Linked DNA regions of Homo sapiens: regions 1 and 2 are each linked to region 3. Evidence: promoter capture Hi-C in 16 types of primary human blood cells and fetal thymus (Javierre and others, 2016). All regions are on one chromosome and are shown on one strand. The core of a region is centred on a gene start or on the middle of the fragment in contact, and the rest is flanking DNA. Distances in the headings are between cores, read along the strand shown.

Evidence for each region. Contacts are between HindIII fragments. The CHiCAGO score rates a contact against its expected background, and 5 or more counts as called.
Region 1: the fragment with the promoter of LINC01531 here is called in contact with the fragment with the promoter of ATP4A in region 3 in 17 of 17 cell types (neutrophils, M1 macrophages, M0 macrophages and 14 more); the score reaches 15.5 in neutrophils.
Region 2: a fragment that was not itself captured here is called in contact with the fragment with the promoter of ATP4A in region 3 in 3 of 17 cell types (M2 macrophages, megakaryocytes and M0 macrophages); the score reaches 7.3 in M2 macrophages.

The regions. Positions count from the first base shown.
Region 1 is chr19:35,403,858-35,407,019 of GRCh38, reverse strand. It overlaps LINC01531 (long intergenic non-protein coding RNA 1531), which reads right to left and starts at 1,413. Exons shown (of 5, transcript NR_040046.1): 1 at 1,339-1,413; 2 at 1-435. The HindIII fragment of the contact is 14,783 bases long and covers 1-3,162 here.
Region 2 is chr19:35,805,994-35,809,089 of GRCh38, reverse strand. It overlaps PRODH2 (proline dehydrogenase 2), which reads left to right. Exons shown (of 10, transcript NM_021232.2): 5 at 1,969-2,049; 6 at 2,260-2,415; 7 at 2,494-2,660. Among named protein-coding and RNA genes, the nearest start is that of PRODH2, 5.3 kb to the left of the region's middle. RefSeq lists an enhancer at 1,657-2,157. The HindIII fragment of the contact is 1,192 bases long and covers 749-1,940 here.
Region 3 is chr19:35,562,256-35,565,562 of GRCh38, reverse strand. It overlaps ATP4A (ATPase H+/K+ transporting subunit alpha), which reads left to right and starts at 1,905. Exons shown (of 22, transcript NM_000704.3): 1 at 1,905-1,945; 2 at 2,036-2,179; 3 at 2,295-2,354; 4 at 2,925-3,128. The coding sequence starts at 1,934. RefSeq lists an enhancer at 249-750. The HindIII fragment of the contact is 9,853 bases long and covers 1-3,307 here.

The DNA.
Region 1 (3,162 bases), core at 164-2,663, 160 kb after region 3:
ATAGCATATCACCTGCTGGCCCATCTGTACATCTCATTCTGCATTCGAGAACTTCAGAAGTAGAGGACCAGATGAATGGGAGTGGCCCTGCCGCCACGGGGCTGAGCTCCACCGCTTTTGTCCTGCTCCTCCTCGCCAGGCCCTGACCATCTCTCCACTGACTTGTCCTGGCCCCTTTTCCATTTCTGTGGCCTCTTCCCTCTCCTCCTTGGAGAGTAGCCTGTCCTCTGCTCCCTGCATGCTCTCCTTCCATCCCGTCTCTTCCTGGGGTTATGATCCCAGCAACCTCTTCCCTGAGCCCAGGCGAGGTCAGGTCCCTTGCCTTTTCCTGCAGGTAGATGGGTGGGTTTTCAAAGATGTCTGGTTTCAGAAGCCGGTGGCATCTTGTCTAACTGGACCACCTTTTCCTTTTCCACCAACGGCAGGCTTTTATACCTGGAAGAGTCATGTGGTCAAAAAGAGGAAAGTCAGTGGTTGAGCTCTTTCTAAAGCAGCTTGACCTTCTGGGTCTCCCACCAGATTTTGTCCCCAACAGACTTATTTCACCCAGAGTCCAATTTTTTTTTTTTTGAGGCAGAGTCTTGCTCTATCACCCAGGCTGGAGTTTAGTGGTGCGATCTCAGCTCACTGCAACCTCTGCCTCCCTAGTTCAAGTGATTCTCCTACCCCAGCCTTCCAAGTAGTGGGATTACAGGTGTGCAACACCACGCCCGACTAATTTTTGTATTTTTTGTAGACAGGGTTTCACCATGTTGGCCAGGCTAGTCTCGAACTCCGAACCTCAAGTGATCCGCCTGCCTTGCCTCCCAAAGTGCTGGGATTACAGGCGTGAGCCACTGTGCTCAGCCCAGAATCCAAATTTGAACAGTTTTTTCAGGCTTCCTCCTCCCCCTACATTCCAAGAGGTTGAATTCTGTTTCCTTCCCATGGGCAATTATCCCACACGACTACACGCACATCCATCTCTCACTTCCGCTTTTTCTTTCTTTCTTTCTTATTTTGTTGTTGTTGTTTTGAGACAGGGTCCCACTCTGTTGCCCAGGCTAGAGTTCAGTGGTGCAATCGCGGCCCACTGCAGCCTTCACCTTTCGGGCTCAAGTGATCCTCACACCTCAGCCTCCCGAGAAGCTGGGCCACAGGTGCACGCCACTGCATCTGGCTAATTTTTTGTATTTTTGGCAGAGACGGGGTTTCACCATGTTACCAAGAGTTGTCGAACTCTTGAGCTCAGGCAGTCCACCCGCTTTGGCCTCCCAAAGTGCTAGGATTACAAGTGTGAGCCACCATGCCCAGCCCCAAGTTTGTTTTTAGAAAAAAAAACCTAGCATTGTCCCTTGCCTATAACAGACACTCAAATCCTTGTGGAATGTAAGGATGGAGGTTGGATGTGCCTGTGAATACTTGCTAGCTGATGACACAAGCAAAGAATGTGTCAGAACCTGCGCCTTTTGTCTCCTGTCCTTTATCTGCATTCTGTTGCCCGGGTTACTGGTATGGGGACATCTTTGGTGCTGAGGTCTAGGTTCCAATGAGTCAAAGGGAGAATTCAAACTAAGTTGTCTGGCAGCACCCCAAGACTGTGCTGACCTCACACACAGCTGTATCACGGGAGTGGGCAGTGCATCATCTCAAATCCAACTCAACTGAGCAATGGTTCGGGCTGAGTCACACCATGTATGAATCGGGGGGCGGGGGTATGTGGCTCCTCTCCAACAAGCCACACTGTCTGCTTCCCTGTCACAAAACACATGGAGCCGTTACTCTGTGTGAGGTACTGTTCTAGGAGCTGGAGACAAGAGTGAACAGGATGAACAGAAAACAAGTAGACAAACCAACAAGGCAATTTTACAGGAAGAAAGGAAGTAGGCCAGGCAAGGTGGCTCACGTCTGTGATCTCAACGCTTTGGGAGGCCCAGGCAGGAGGACTGCTTGAGGCCAGGAGTTCAAAACCAGCCTGGTCAACATAGCGATACCCCGTCTCTACAAAAAGTGAGATAAAAAGTCAGGCATGGTGGCTCACACCTATAATCCCAGCTACTTAGGAGGCTGAGGCAGGAGGAGGATTGCTTAAGGCTGGGTGTTTGAGACCAGCCTGGGCAACATAGTGAGATCCCCTGTCTCTACAAAAAAGGATAAAAATAAAAAATTAGCCAGGCATGGTGGTGCACACCTGTAGTCCTAGATACTCAGGAGGCTGAGGCGGGAGGATCACTTGAGCCTAGGAGTTGGAAATTAAAATGAACTATGATGGCACCACTCCAATCCAGTGGTCCTGTCTGGGGGAAAAAAAAGGGAAAGAAAATAAATCGGCTAGGCGTGGTGGGGTTCATGCCTGTAACCCCAGCACTTTGGGAAGCTGAGGCGGGCACATCACTTGAGGTCAGGAGTTTGAGACCAGCCTGGCCAACATGGTGAAACTCTGTCTCTACTAAAAATACAAAAATTAGCCAGGTATGGTGGCGGGCACTGGTAATCCCAGCTACTCAGGAGACTGGGGCAGGAGAATCACCTTAACCTGGGAGGCAGAGATTGCAGTCAGCCGAGATCATGCCACTGCACTCCAGCCTGGGCGACAGAGGAAGACTCTGCCTCAAAAAAAAAAAAAAAAAAGGACCAAAAATCAAACAACAACAACAACAACAACAAAAAGCAAGCAGGGAAATTGAGAGAGAGAGAGAGAGAGATGGGCAGGGCCTGTCAGGAAAGGCCTGGGACATTTGAATGGGTGAGAAGGAGCCACTATCTGAAGAGCGTTCCAGGTAGGGGCACCAGCGGGAACTTAGCCTGAACCATGGCTCGGTTGAGTTGGACTTGAGATGTCGCACCGCCCACTCCCATGATGCAGCTGTACGTGAGGTCAACACAGCCTTGGGATGCTGCAAAACAGCTTAGTCTGAATTCTCCTTTTTTTTTTTTTTTTGAGACAGAGTCTCACTCTGTTGCCCAGGCTGGAGTGCAGAGGCGATCTCGGCTCACTGCAACCTCCATTCTCCTGGGTTCACGCCATTCTCCTGACTCAGCCTCCTGAGTAGCTGGGATTACAGGCACTCACCACCACACCTGGCTAATTTTTGTATTTTTAGTAGAGATGAGGTTTCACCATATTGGTCAGGCTGGTCTCGAACTCCTGAGCTCAGGTGATCAACCCACCTTGGCCTCCCA
Region 2 (3,096 bases), core at 95-2,594, 240 kb before region 3:
AGAAAAAAGGGCCAGGTGCTGTAGCTCACACCTGTAATCCCAGCACTTTGGGAGGCTAAGTGGGGCTGGATCACTTGAGGTCAGGAGTTTGAGACCAGCCTGGGCAACATGGTGAAACCCCATCTCTACTAAAAATATAAAACTTATCCAGAAGTGGTGGCACGTGCCTGTAGCCCCAGTTAATCAGGAGGCTGAGGCAGGGGAATCACTTGAACTTGCACCACTGCACTCTTGCCTGGGAGACAGAGTGAGATCTATCTCAAAAAAAAAAAAAAAAGAAGGAAGGAAGGAAGGGAGGGAAGGAGGGAGGGAGGGAGAAAAGAGAGAAAGACCCAGGCTCTGGAAAGGCTGAGGTTTAAACCTCAGGTCTGCCCTGAGTTAGCTGTGTGACTTTTGACAAGTGACTTCCCTGCTCTGTGCCTCAGTTTCCCCATCTAGAAAATGGGGGGATAATAACAGTTGGTACATTAGAGAGTGGTAAATATTAAATGAGTTAAATATTTGGTGGGTGTCTGAAATAGCTCCCTGAGGGCCTAAGACTACGCCCCAAGTCAAGCAGGAGACAATCCTCTGACAGGGGAGGAGGAAACCAGGCTGCTGCCTCCAGGTCTTCCCTTCTCCAGGAGGCAGCATTCTCCCCACCATGCGGAAGGTTGCAGCTTCCAGCCCAACCTGCCTCCAGGTGGGATTCCATGAGCAAGCCCAGGCCTATGTCATCTGTATCGACCCTGTTGGATATAATAAAGCTTTCAGCCCCACCTGTTCCTCTTTCTTCCATTTCCCAACTTCTTTGAACCCAGCCAGACTCCCTGGAGTCACCAGCAGCTCACATTCAGCCAGATGAATCTGCATAAGACTGTGAGTTAGAAACGGTTCTTATTTCCATGTTACAAGCATATCCACTCCCGAAGTGTTTGCTGAACATCTATCTTGTTCCAGACACGGTGCTAGGGGCCGAGGAAGCATGAAGGCAAAATCCCTGACCTCGAGGCACTTACTTGCAAGTCAGGGGCAAGAGACAATAATTAAAACCAAAGTCAGAATCCCAGCACTTTGGAAGGCTGAGGTGGGAGGATCGCTTGAGTCCAGGAGACTGAGACCAGCCTGGGCAACATAGGAAGACCTTGACTCTACAAATAGTAAAGAATTAGCCCGGCATGGTGGTGGGTGCCTGTGGTACTAGGTACTTGGAAGGCTGAAGCAGGAGGATTGCTTGAGCTGGGGAGGTGGAGGCTGCAGTGAGCCATGATCGTGCCACTGCATTCCAGCCTGGGCAACACAGCAAGACCCCGTCTCAGCAAAACAAAAGTCAGTACGTAACAAGTAAGGGAAAATAAGGCTGAGGAAGAGGAAAAGAAGTTGCCAATGTATAGGTGGGAAAACCATGTTGAGAAAGTGACATTAGAGCAAATACTTGAAGGAAACATGGGAGCAGGTAAAGGGCTGGAGGTGGGAAGGTGCCCTCGTGTTCAAAGAGTAGCAGGGAGGGCTGAGCACGGTGGCTCACACCTGTAATCCCAGCACTTTGGGAGGCCGATGTGGGCAGATCACTTGAGGTCAGGAGTTCGAGACCAGCCTGGCCAACATGGTTAAACCCTGTCTCTACTAAAAGTACAAATATTAGCCGGGCATGGTGGCGGGCGCCTGTAATCCCAGCTACTCGGGAGGCTGAAGCAGGAGAATCACTTGAACCCAGGAGGCAGAGGTTGCAGTGAGCTGAGATCATGCCACTGCACTCCAGCCTGGGCAACAGAGCAAGACTCTGTTTCAAAAAACAAACAAACAAAAACTGAGGCCCAGAAAGGTTACATAACTTGCCCAAGGTCACACAGTAGGTGGTGAAGCCTGGATTCGAGCCCTGATTCTAGGCTCATAACCCCCTCAATAAATAGTACCTAACTGATATTGCTCATTTTTAGATTTCTAGCAACTTATAAGCTTTTCCCCACTTCCCCTGCTGCCCCCTAGAACCTCCAGGTCTCCTGCCTCAATGCTGAGCAGAACCAGCACCTCCGGGCCTCCCTCAGCCGCCTGCATCGGGTGGCACAGGTAACCCCTCCTGCTGGAACCAGCACCTCCGGGCCTCCCTCTGCCGCCTGCATTGGGTGGCACAGGTAACCCCTCCTGCTGGAACCAGCACCTCCGGGCCTCCCTCAGCCGCCTGCATCGGGTGGCACAGGTAACCCCTCCTGCTGGGATCTGGCTCCACTGCCCCTGCTGGACACCCGGGGCCCTGACCGTCGTCTCTGTCGCCATCAGTATGCCCGGGCCCAGCACGTGCGGCTCCTGGTGGATGCGGAGTACACCTCACTGAACCCTGCGCTCTCGCTGCTGGTGGCTGCCCTGGCTGTGCGCTGGAACAGCCCGGGTGAAGGCGGGCCCTGGGTGTGGAACACCTACCAGGCCTGTCTAAAGGTGTGCAGTGTGTTCCAGGAGGTACAGGCTGGGGTCCCCACACCCTGACCTACCAGAACCTGCCTGCGTGCCCTATAGGACACATTCGAGCGGCTGGGGAGGGATGCAGAGGCTGCGCACAGGGCCGGCCTGGCCTTCGGAGTGAAGCTGGTACGAGGTGCATATCTGGACAAGGAGAGAGCGGTGGCCCAGCTCCATGGGATGGAAGACCCCACTCAGCCTGACTATGAGGCCACCAGTCAGAGGTAGGCCCGGGCCAGCTGGCCTCTGCAGGAAATAATAACACCTAGTGGTTGGGTGCAGTGGCTCATACCTGTAATCCCAGTGCTTTGGGAGGCTGAGGCTAGAGATTCACTTGAGAGCAGGAGTTGGAGACCAGCCTGGGCAACACAGGGAGACCCCATCTCTAAAAAATTTTAAAAATAGTCAGGTGTGGTAGCACATGCCTGTGGTTCCAGCCACTTAGGAGGCTGAGGTGGGAGGATCACTTGAGGCCAGGAGTTCAAGGCTGCAGTGAGCCATGACTGCACCACTGCACTTCAGCCTGGGCAGCAGAGCGAGAATCTGTCTCAAAACAAACAAACAAACAAACAAACAAACAAAACAAAACAAAAAGAAATCCTTACAGTGGCCTCTAAGCCCCACATGCTCCCTGTCACTTCCCTAACTTTCCCTCCCTCT
Region 3 (3,307 bases), core at 656-3,155:
GGAACTGTAAGTACCAAGGTCCTGAAGCAGGAACGACCTTGGTCTGTGCAAAGTGCAGCAGAGAGGTCAGTGCCCCTGGAAACCTAGCAGCAACAGAGGCAGGACAGGTGACCAGGGCCAGATGTTGCAGGAAGGAGTGCAGAGTTTATTCTGAGTGGGAAGGGAAGGCTTTGGAGGGTTGTAAGCAGGGGGTGACACAAGCTGTTTGACATACATGGCTCAGAGCTGATGGGAGCCCAGTGAGCGAGTAGATTCACTACAAGGACAGCATGTGGCCCCACGCCACCTCTTCTTTGGAGGTTTCTTCTAGCAGGCTGGGGATGACCAGCCGTGTGGGTGCGGGGAGGAGCTCTGGCTGCCCAACAGCTTTGAGTTTCCCAGGTGACCTGCCCCAGTAGAGAAGGACATTGCCAGGGCAGTTATCTTATCAGGCGCACGCTCACCTGCTCCTGGAGACACGCTCACCCCATAACATACCAAGGTCCCCACCATTCCACTGGCCCAGCCCCTCGCTGCTGCTGCCCATGGAGGTCCCTACCTGAGGGATGAGGAGGGAGTCCCCAGGCCTCCTGGCATCTGTCACCCAACACCAAGATCAAGCCAAGACCCTTGGACACATCCTTTCCCCATGTTGCACCTTGGTTTCCCCATCTAGGGTAGGGACGGGGAATGGTTGAGAGCTGTAAAGTCTGTAGCTGGATATGTGAGTCCCTGTGAGCCTCAGTTTCCCCCTCTGCACAACAGGAATGATAGTTCTGCCTGCACAGGGTTTTTTGCAAAGACCCGTGAGGTCACACGTGCAGAGCCTGGCATGTGTGTGGTGCTGCTGCAGTGAAGTTTGGGTTTTTCCATTGGTGGTGCCATAGAAGAGCTAGGCTCTGGGGTCAAGCCCTGGGGTCAAGCCCGGGCTGGAACCCTGTCCCTAATTCTTAGACGTTGAAATCTTCTGCAAAGTCCCTGATGGGGGCTAAGAAGAGAATATTGCTTTACAGGGCTGCTGTTAGATGCTAAGGAAACCATTTGAGTGACACACAGAGCACACCCAGCCCATAGTGAATAGTCAGAGTTCAGTAAACATTCAGCCACCATAGAGAGTGTTGTAAGCATGGCAGGGCATGGTGGCTCACGCCTGTAATCCCAGCACTTTGGGAGGCCAAGGCGGGTGGATCACCTGAGGTCAGGAGTTCGAGACCAGCCTGGCCAACCTGGTGAAACCCCGTCTCTACTAAAAGTACAAAAATTAGCTGGGTGTGGTGGCATGTGCCTGTAGTCCCAGCTACTCAAGAGGCTGAGGCAGGAGAATCACTTGAACCCGGGAGGCGGAGGTTGCAGCGAGCTGAGATTGCACCACTGCACTCCAACCTGGGTGTCAGAGTGACACTCCATCTCAAAAAAAAAAAGAAAAAAAAAAAGAGTGTGGGAGCACCCTCCTCTTCCAGTTGATCAGGCACGTGCTATTTAGACTGAAAGAGGACACTCTGCAGCCAGCTGATCTGGTTCTCACTCCATTATGTCCTAGCCTGTGATGGAGCCATAGGAGAATGACTCAACCCCTCCATGCCTCAGTTTCCCCATCTGTAAAGGGTCTTGTCCCCTCAAAGGGTTATTGGAAGGTTAAATAAGTTAGCACATGGAAGCCGTCAGCACAATGCCCAGCGCATAATGAGCACCTTATGTTTGCTCTTCTTGTTGCTGCAGCGGTTCCCAGGGGCTCCCTGATCTCAGGGCAGGTTGACATGGGGGGATCTGGGCAGGGGAGGGGGGGGCCAGCCCAGGAGGGAATGCCTGAGGTGCCCAGGCCTAGAGGTCACCCCAAGGAGCCTGTAATCAGCTGTGGTCGGGCGGTTCTGCTCCACCCCACCGCCCTCCCTGGGTATATCAGGACTGGTCCGGGCCCAGGCTCTGTTGGGTGGGAGCACAGGCACCGGGCACCATGGGGAAGGCCGTGAGTGGGGCCCAGGGGTCCGGGGTGCAGTGGGGACAGGGGTTGCAGTGGAATCTGAGTTCTCCCTCCCTCCATCCTGTCCATTCCCAGGAGAACTATGAGCTCTACTCGGTGGAGCTGGGTCCTGGCCCTGGCGGGGACATGGCTGCCAAGATGAGCAAGAAGAAGAAGGCGGGTGGCGGGGGTGGCAAGAGGAAGGAGAAGCTGGAGAACATGAAGAAGGAGATGGAGATTGTGAGCTCTGACTGGGGAGGGGCGGGAGCTGGAGGGTAGGCTGGGAACCAGGCAGTGGGCGGGGAGGGGGCCAGGAGAGCCCAGAGCAAGCACCCTGCCCCACCCCACCACACAGAACGACCACCAGCTGTCAGTGGCGGAGCTGGAACAGAAATACCAGACCAGTGCCACCAAGGTGAGCTGGAGACTGGGAGCGTACAGAAAGGGGAGGAGGAGAGAGGGAGGGAGAGGGAGATGGAAGGAGGGAGATGGAGAGAGGGAGAGAGAGGGAGAGATGAAGAGAGGAAGATATGGAGAAATAGAGAGAGGGAGGGAGGCAGAAAAGGAAAGAGGGAGGGAGGGAGAGAGGAAAGGATGGAGGGAGGGGAGGAGAGAGGGAGGGAGATGGAGAGAGGGAGAGAGAGGGAGAGGGAGAGAAGGGAGAAAGCATTAGAGAGAAAGGGTGACACACAGAGACGGAGAGAGGAGTAGCTGAAAAGAGACAGCAAGACAGAGAAGGCAGAGACAAATAAGGAGAGAGCAGCAGGAGAGAGACACATAGAAAGGGGAGCGAGGAGAGAGAGACAAAGGGAGAGATGAAGGAGGGAGGGAGAGATGGGGTGGGGGCAGGAACCAAGAGACAAAGAGATGAGAAGGAGCAGGACAGACCAAGCTGGAGAAGGGAAACTGAAGCAGGGGGCTTTCCACGGGGTGTGCATGTGGAGGAAAGCCCCCAGGACCGCCTCGCCCTGCCCCTCTGTCCCAGGGCCTCTCTGCGAGCCTGGCTGCTGAGCTGCTGCTGCGGGATGGGCCCAACGCACTGCGGCCACCACGGGGCACCCCAGAGTACGTCAAGTTCGCGAGGCAGCTGGCCGGGGGCCTGCAGTGCCTCATGTGGGTTGCCGCCGCCATCTGCCTCATCGCCTTTGCCATCCAGGCTAGTGAGGGGGACCTCACCACCGACGACAATGTGAGCCATGTTGTGGGGACAGGCTCAGGACATGGGGACCTGGGGATGGAAGACACTGAGCCTGGGACTTGGGACAAGAGGGGCAGAGAAGGATGGGGATAGACGAACACGAAAGGCAGTCTCAAGACAGGGGTCATGGAGGGTGAAGGACATTGGGATATGGATGGGGCAGACCCAAG